Linked DNA regions of Homo sapiens: region 1 is linked to region 2. Evidence: promoter capture Hi-C in human tissues and cell types (Jung and others, 2019). All regions are on one chromosome and are shown on one strand. Each heading gives the region's core, a stretch centred on a gene start or on the middle of the fragment in contact. The rest is flanking DNA. Distances are from core to core; before and after follow the strand shown.

Region 1 (2,700 bases), core at 36-2,535, 1.1 Mb after region 2:
TAGTTTGTCTCGTAGTATTCTTGCATTGTTAATCCTATCTTGACAGTGCCAAGATCCATAAGAACTTGGGACCAAGGGGATTTTGATTCCTAACTTACAGAATTAAAAACAAAGTATATTATAATTTTAAAGCTATGCCATGCAAAGATAAGTAGTAATACGCTAATAAATACTAAGCCAAGTAGGAGATAACAGGATTAAGGTAGTTCATCTAAAACTTCAGTGTCACTGCCCACTGCTGTCGTGGCTGCTTGCTCAGATGAGGTTTTTTGGGGCCAACTGATTCCTAACAAATTTGAGAGCTTCTGTAGCAGTGTATCTATTAGTGCAGCTTCTTTCTGAGTATTGAAGACAAAAAGAGAAAAGTGAGAAAATTGAAATTACTGCTAATAGTGGAGTAAAAAAAGTACCAAAGATTTTTAAAAAATTAGTAAATGTAAAGATACTATTTCTTTAATAATTTGCAGTCAGGCATTGGAGTGTTTCCACTAATGGTTGCGAGCCAACTATTTATAGGACAATGGCTATAGAATATTATGTAGTCTTATAAATTGGGTTTCCTAGGAAGATAGCTGGCAGAGCTTTTGAAACTAATAAAGGGAATATGATACTGTGCATTATAAATTATGTCAGCCCGTCATCTTAGGGGCAGTTACAGTGGAGCTTTCCCAGTGATATAACAGCATGCTAGTTTATCTTTTAGTTACCTACCTTAAGCGACTTTCTTTCTTTTCCAAAGGCCATGAGAATGGCCGAAACGAAAAGATTAATTACCACAAGTACCATCAAGATGACACTGGTGAGGATCAGAAAGGTGCCCAGGACTGGGTCTAAAGCGAAAACCTGGGAAAACAATAAGAACACTTGCAGTGACTGACAATTTAGTTTATACTTTACAAACATAAGCTATATGCTAGTGTTTGGGATCTTATCAGAAGAAAAGCTTATCCGAAGGAAACTTAGGGAGAGAGTCAAAAGATAATAAGAAGGAAAATACTTTTAAATGGACAGAAGAGCAGGAATGACTCATTTTAAGGAGGTTAAGATAATTGTGACTGCAGGGCTTTCACAAGAAAACAGGTGAGTTGCAGTGGAATTGGAAATGATTCAAATGTCACATGAGTTTTGGCAAAAAATACATCTAATCATGGAAGCTAAAAGTGGGAGGGGGGTAAGCAAACACTGAAAGATTAAATGCATACCAGAAATGAGAATGCACACTGTCTCTGCCATATCAAGAAACTACAACCCTAAACACAGGAGCATTCCAATAAAAGTTAACAGGTTGGCCACAGAAAACTGGCTTTTTAGTATTTTTTTTTTTCCATTGTCATTTTTAAAGGTACAAGCATTGAGTTCTGCCATTCTTTACTTTTCTGCATACATAAATATCAAGTTCTGGGCTTATTGGAATGGTTCCCATAACAAAAACTGTTGTTTAAAATTTAGATGTTCTTTTTCAACAAATGGTATTTATTTTCCCTTGGTATTGGCCCATTCATTGTTGCCACTAGGGCACTGTTTAAAAATATCCCAACAGAGGGGTTGATTACAGTCAATGCCACCCTGATGGAAATCTATATGGCAAAATATTTTCAAGCACCAAACTGTTTTACCTACTTAAAAATGATTATTATAACAATTTCAGGTCAACCAGATAATGTGGGCAATCTCTGAGTTTGTGATACAAGACTTATTTCCAATAAGTTTATTTTTATGTACAATTTTACTGTTTATTTTTTGTTTGCTCTATTTGTTTTTTAATGTTTTTTACTTTATGTTTACTGTATTTTTATGTACAATTACATCCAAAGCAGAAAAGTTCCTTTTTTATCCCCAAAAGGAGGTGTCAGCAAAAATTTGTTACTCTGATTACTTCCTTCACAGCTTTAGGATACGAAGTGCTGCAGTGGCAAAGGCTCATCCCCTAGTTATTGGAGCTAGAACCACAACAGAACACAGCCTAGTCAGCCAAAACAGCAGTTACAGTTGTCCCTTAGTATCTGAGAGAGATTGGCGCCAGGGCCCCCACAGGTACCAAAATCTGAGGATGCTTAAGTCCCTTATTTTTATTTTTTAATTGCAAGCTTCCCTAAAGGTTAAGAAAGTGTCTTCTCCCCCACTTTTTTTTTTTTTTTTTTTTTTTGAAATGGTCTTGCTCTCACCCCGGCTGGAGTGCAGTGGCGTGATCTTGGCTCACTGCAACCTCCACCTCCCAGGTTCAAGCGATTCTCCTCAGTCAGTCTCCTGAGTGGCTGGGATTACAGGTTCCCACCACCATGCCTGGCTAATTTTTGTATTTTAGTAGAGACGGGATTTTACCATGTTGGCCAGGCTGGTCTTGAACTCCTGACCTCAAGTGATCAGCCCCACCTTGGCCTTCTAGAGTGCTGGGATTACAGGCGTGAGCTACTGTGCCCGGCTCAAAGTCCCTTTTTAAAAATGGCACAGTATTTGCATAAACCCTATATACATCTCTCTTATACTTGAAATAAACTTTAGATTACCTCTAGTACTTTATAGTGGAACTGCTACGTAAAATAGTTGTTACACCGGTTTGTGGTTTTTTGTGGGAGACAGTCTCGCTCAGAGGGCAGTGGGATGATCATAGCTCATTGCATCCTCACTCCTGAGCTCAAGCAATCTTTTCACTTTGGCCTCCTAAGTAACAGGAACTACAGGTACATGCTACCATGCCTG
Region 2 (2,700 bases), core at 148-2,647:
TCACACCACGGAATAGATTAGAGCAGTCCAATAGAGCATTCTGCAATGATGGAAACAGTCTATAATCTGTGCTGCCCTATATAGCAGCCAATAGCTACATGTGGCTATTGAACACTTGAAATACGGGTAGTGTGACTGAGAAACTAAAGTTTAATCTTTAATAATTTAAATTTATAATAGCTACGCACGGCCAACGGCTACTCTACTGGACAGAACAGAAATACAATTCACCTTTTCTGACTCGCAGACTGGTATTCTTCCAGTTTCACAGCCTGCTTCTTTCCAATTTTCTGAAATCACTCACTCACTTGACTTTAACACTAAAATGTGACTGGGAAAAAACCCACAAAAGTAAAATAATACTGCAGAAAAAAAAATAAATAAAACATCCCCAGTTAAACTTTCGCTGTTTTGTACATTGGGAAATAAAGTAAAATATCAGATCATTGTTACACATACATGTAACAAGACTGCAGAAGCAAGAAAGGTCAAATTATTTCTACTTCCACTTGCAGGGAAGGGTGTTATAACACAGATAAAACAAAAAACTCTCTGAGCCTTGAGATCACGAGTTTTCCGACCTGATTTCTCTACTTGGTCACTAACAATCTCCTTCACTTCTCAGAAGCTGGGTAAGAAACCAGGCTGGTCAGCATCACCTGCAAATTCTCCGGCTTCTGACTTCTCTCTCACCACAGAGACAACTCTCTGATTTGCTGGTTTGGGTGGCACCGCACCGAAGACTCACCATGTGCCATGCACTGTGCAAAGCACTACCCATACATGATGTCACTTCATTCTCACTGCAGCCCTTTGTGGCACCGGGAGGTTAAAAAGCTGGGACCAAATCACACAGCCAGTCAGGAGTAAAGCAGGGACTCCCAGATATGGCTCCCAATCTGCTCTTAAACACTGCGCTAAGGTAAGGGCCTAAAACCTGGGAAAGTAACCCTGGCTGGGAAGGCGTGAGAAGTCCCCCTGGGGAGCAGAGCAGTCAGGGGCTGCATAGCCAGGGAGGGGTCCTGGCGGCTCTTACTTCTCGATCTCCAGCGCTGCCACCTTCCGCTTTTCGTACAGCTTGTCATTGAGGGCGCGCACGATGTTAGGCGTGAGCGGCGCGAAATCCTTCTCGGGGTTCATGGTGGCAGCTGGGGGAACCTCGCGACTCCTTAGCCCGCGGCTGCCGGGGCCGCGCCGGGGCCAGGGGAGTCTGCGGCTCCGCTCTGCCCCCGGCGCCGGCGCATGGACCACGCCGCTCTAGGCTTGCCTGCCACGCTCCGCCGCCTCGCCCTGGAACCCGGGCCCGGACCCCGCTCCAGCACACCTGACCCTGGCCGCTTAACAACTCCCGCCCGGCACTAGCGGGACTCACGAGACAGCGGCCATGTTACTCGAGTCACATGACTCTACAGCACTTCCGCCTTCCGTCGCGAGGGCCCGCCCCTCTCCAGCCACGCCCCCACCGCAGGCCGCAGGTGGATTGGCCACGCCCTCGGAAGGCTCCACCCACACTGCACACACTATCGCGCTGCGCGCCAGGTAGCTGGAGTGTGGTTTGAGACGTGCTTTAATGGGTGTGTAGCTCACGCCCAACTGATGGCACGTGGTGGGCTTCTGTAGACGTTCGTAAGACCGAATGGGTTCTTGGAGTCTGATTCACTTAACATAATTTATTCAATAGTCACCGAATTCACTAGTTCATTCAGTAGTTGGTCACTTACCAATTTCCTAGATGCAGACGTTTCCCTAACTGCAGTAACACTGTCATCACTTTCACCATATTCTAGCCACTTGTATTATCTATTTAATGTTTTCCTCAAATCAACTCACTTTAAAAAATACCTTAAATCTCTTTTAGCTTTGCTTATGCCCTAAAACCATGAGTTTGAATAGGTATATTTTTTCTAAGACACATCAAAATAAATTCTCAATTAAAAATGGCACTACCTGTCTACCACCTAAGATCTCAGGTACCACCAGTGTCTGTCACTCCACCATTTGGGGGTGTGTTTAACATGCTCTGATGCCTAGGAGGGCTGGTTACAGACAGAGAGAAAGGCCCCAGATCTGCTGAGTGCGGGTCTCTAGATAGGTCCCCTGGAAAGCAGCCCCTTCAGCTGCTTCGGGAATCACATTACATGGTGAGACAGAAATCCCAACTATGTGGCAAAATATTTAAAAGCAATTTATGGCCGGAGTGTGGTAAACATGCAGTTAACAGGGAGGTGCATCAGCCTTTCCTATCATAAGCTTTCAGAGTGAACAGGGACTTAGGACAAGGGCTAGATTACAGTGGAGCTCAAAGAATAACAGTTTCAGAATGCATGGTGATACTTTTCTTTAATGAATGAAAAGTGCATATATAGGCCTTATAACAGTCTTGAAAATGGAGTATTTTCCTCAACAGAAACAGGGACGCAATGAGTAAAGGGCAAAAGTAGGCAGAATTCTAGGATGACCTCCAATATTCCCACCCCTTCGTGTTCATGCCCTGTATTATGCCCTCTTTCAGCGTGAACAAGACTTGTAAATATGATGGGCTATGCATCACTCACATGATTATATTATGTAATATCGCAGAAGAGATTTTGCAGATGTAATTAAGGTCCCTAATCAGCAGACATTGAATTAATAAAAAGAGAGATTAACTTGAGTCGGCCTGACCGAATCAAGTGAGTACTTAAAAGAGATTAGAAGAAA

Evidence for each region. Contacts are between HindIII fragments. The study calls those that stand out against the background at their distance.
Region 1: a fragment that was not itself captured here is called in contact with the fragment with the promoter of VAC14 in region 2 in 1 of the 25 tissues and cell types used here (aorta).

The regions. Positions count from the first base shown.
Region 1 is chr16:71,929,341-71,932,040 of GRCh38, forward strand. IST1 (IST1 factor associated with ESCRT-III) reads left to right here. Exons shown (of 10, transcript NM_001270975.2): 10 at 1-1,859. It overlaps PKD1L3 (polycystin 1 like 3, transient receptor potential channel interacting), which reads right to left. Exons shown (of 30, transcript NM_181536.2): 29 at 712-843; 30 at 198-338. The coding sequence ends at 198. Among named protein-coding and RNA genes, the nearest start is that of IST1, 35 kb to the left of the region's middle. The HindIII fragment of the contact is 3,323 bases long and covers 1-2,700 here.
Region 2 is chr16:70,799,761-70,802,460 of GRCh38, forward strand. VAC14 (VAC14 component of PIKFYVE complex) reads right to left here and starts at 1,398. Exons shown (of 19, transcript NM_018052.5): 1 at 1,037-1,398. The coding sequence starts at 1,140. It overlaps HYDIN (HYDIN axonemal central pair apparatus protein), which reads right to left. Exons shown (of 86, transcript NM_001270974.2): 86 at 2,324-2,700. RefSeq lists enhancers at 1,084-1,706, 1,374-1,433 and a silencer at 1,104-1,293. The HindIII fragment of the contact is 10,557 bases long and covers 1-2,700 here.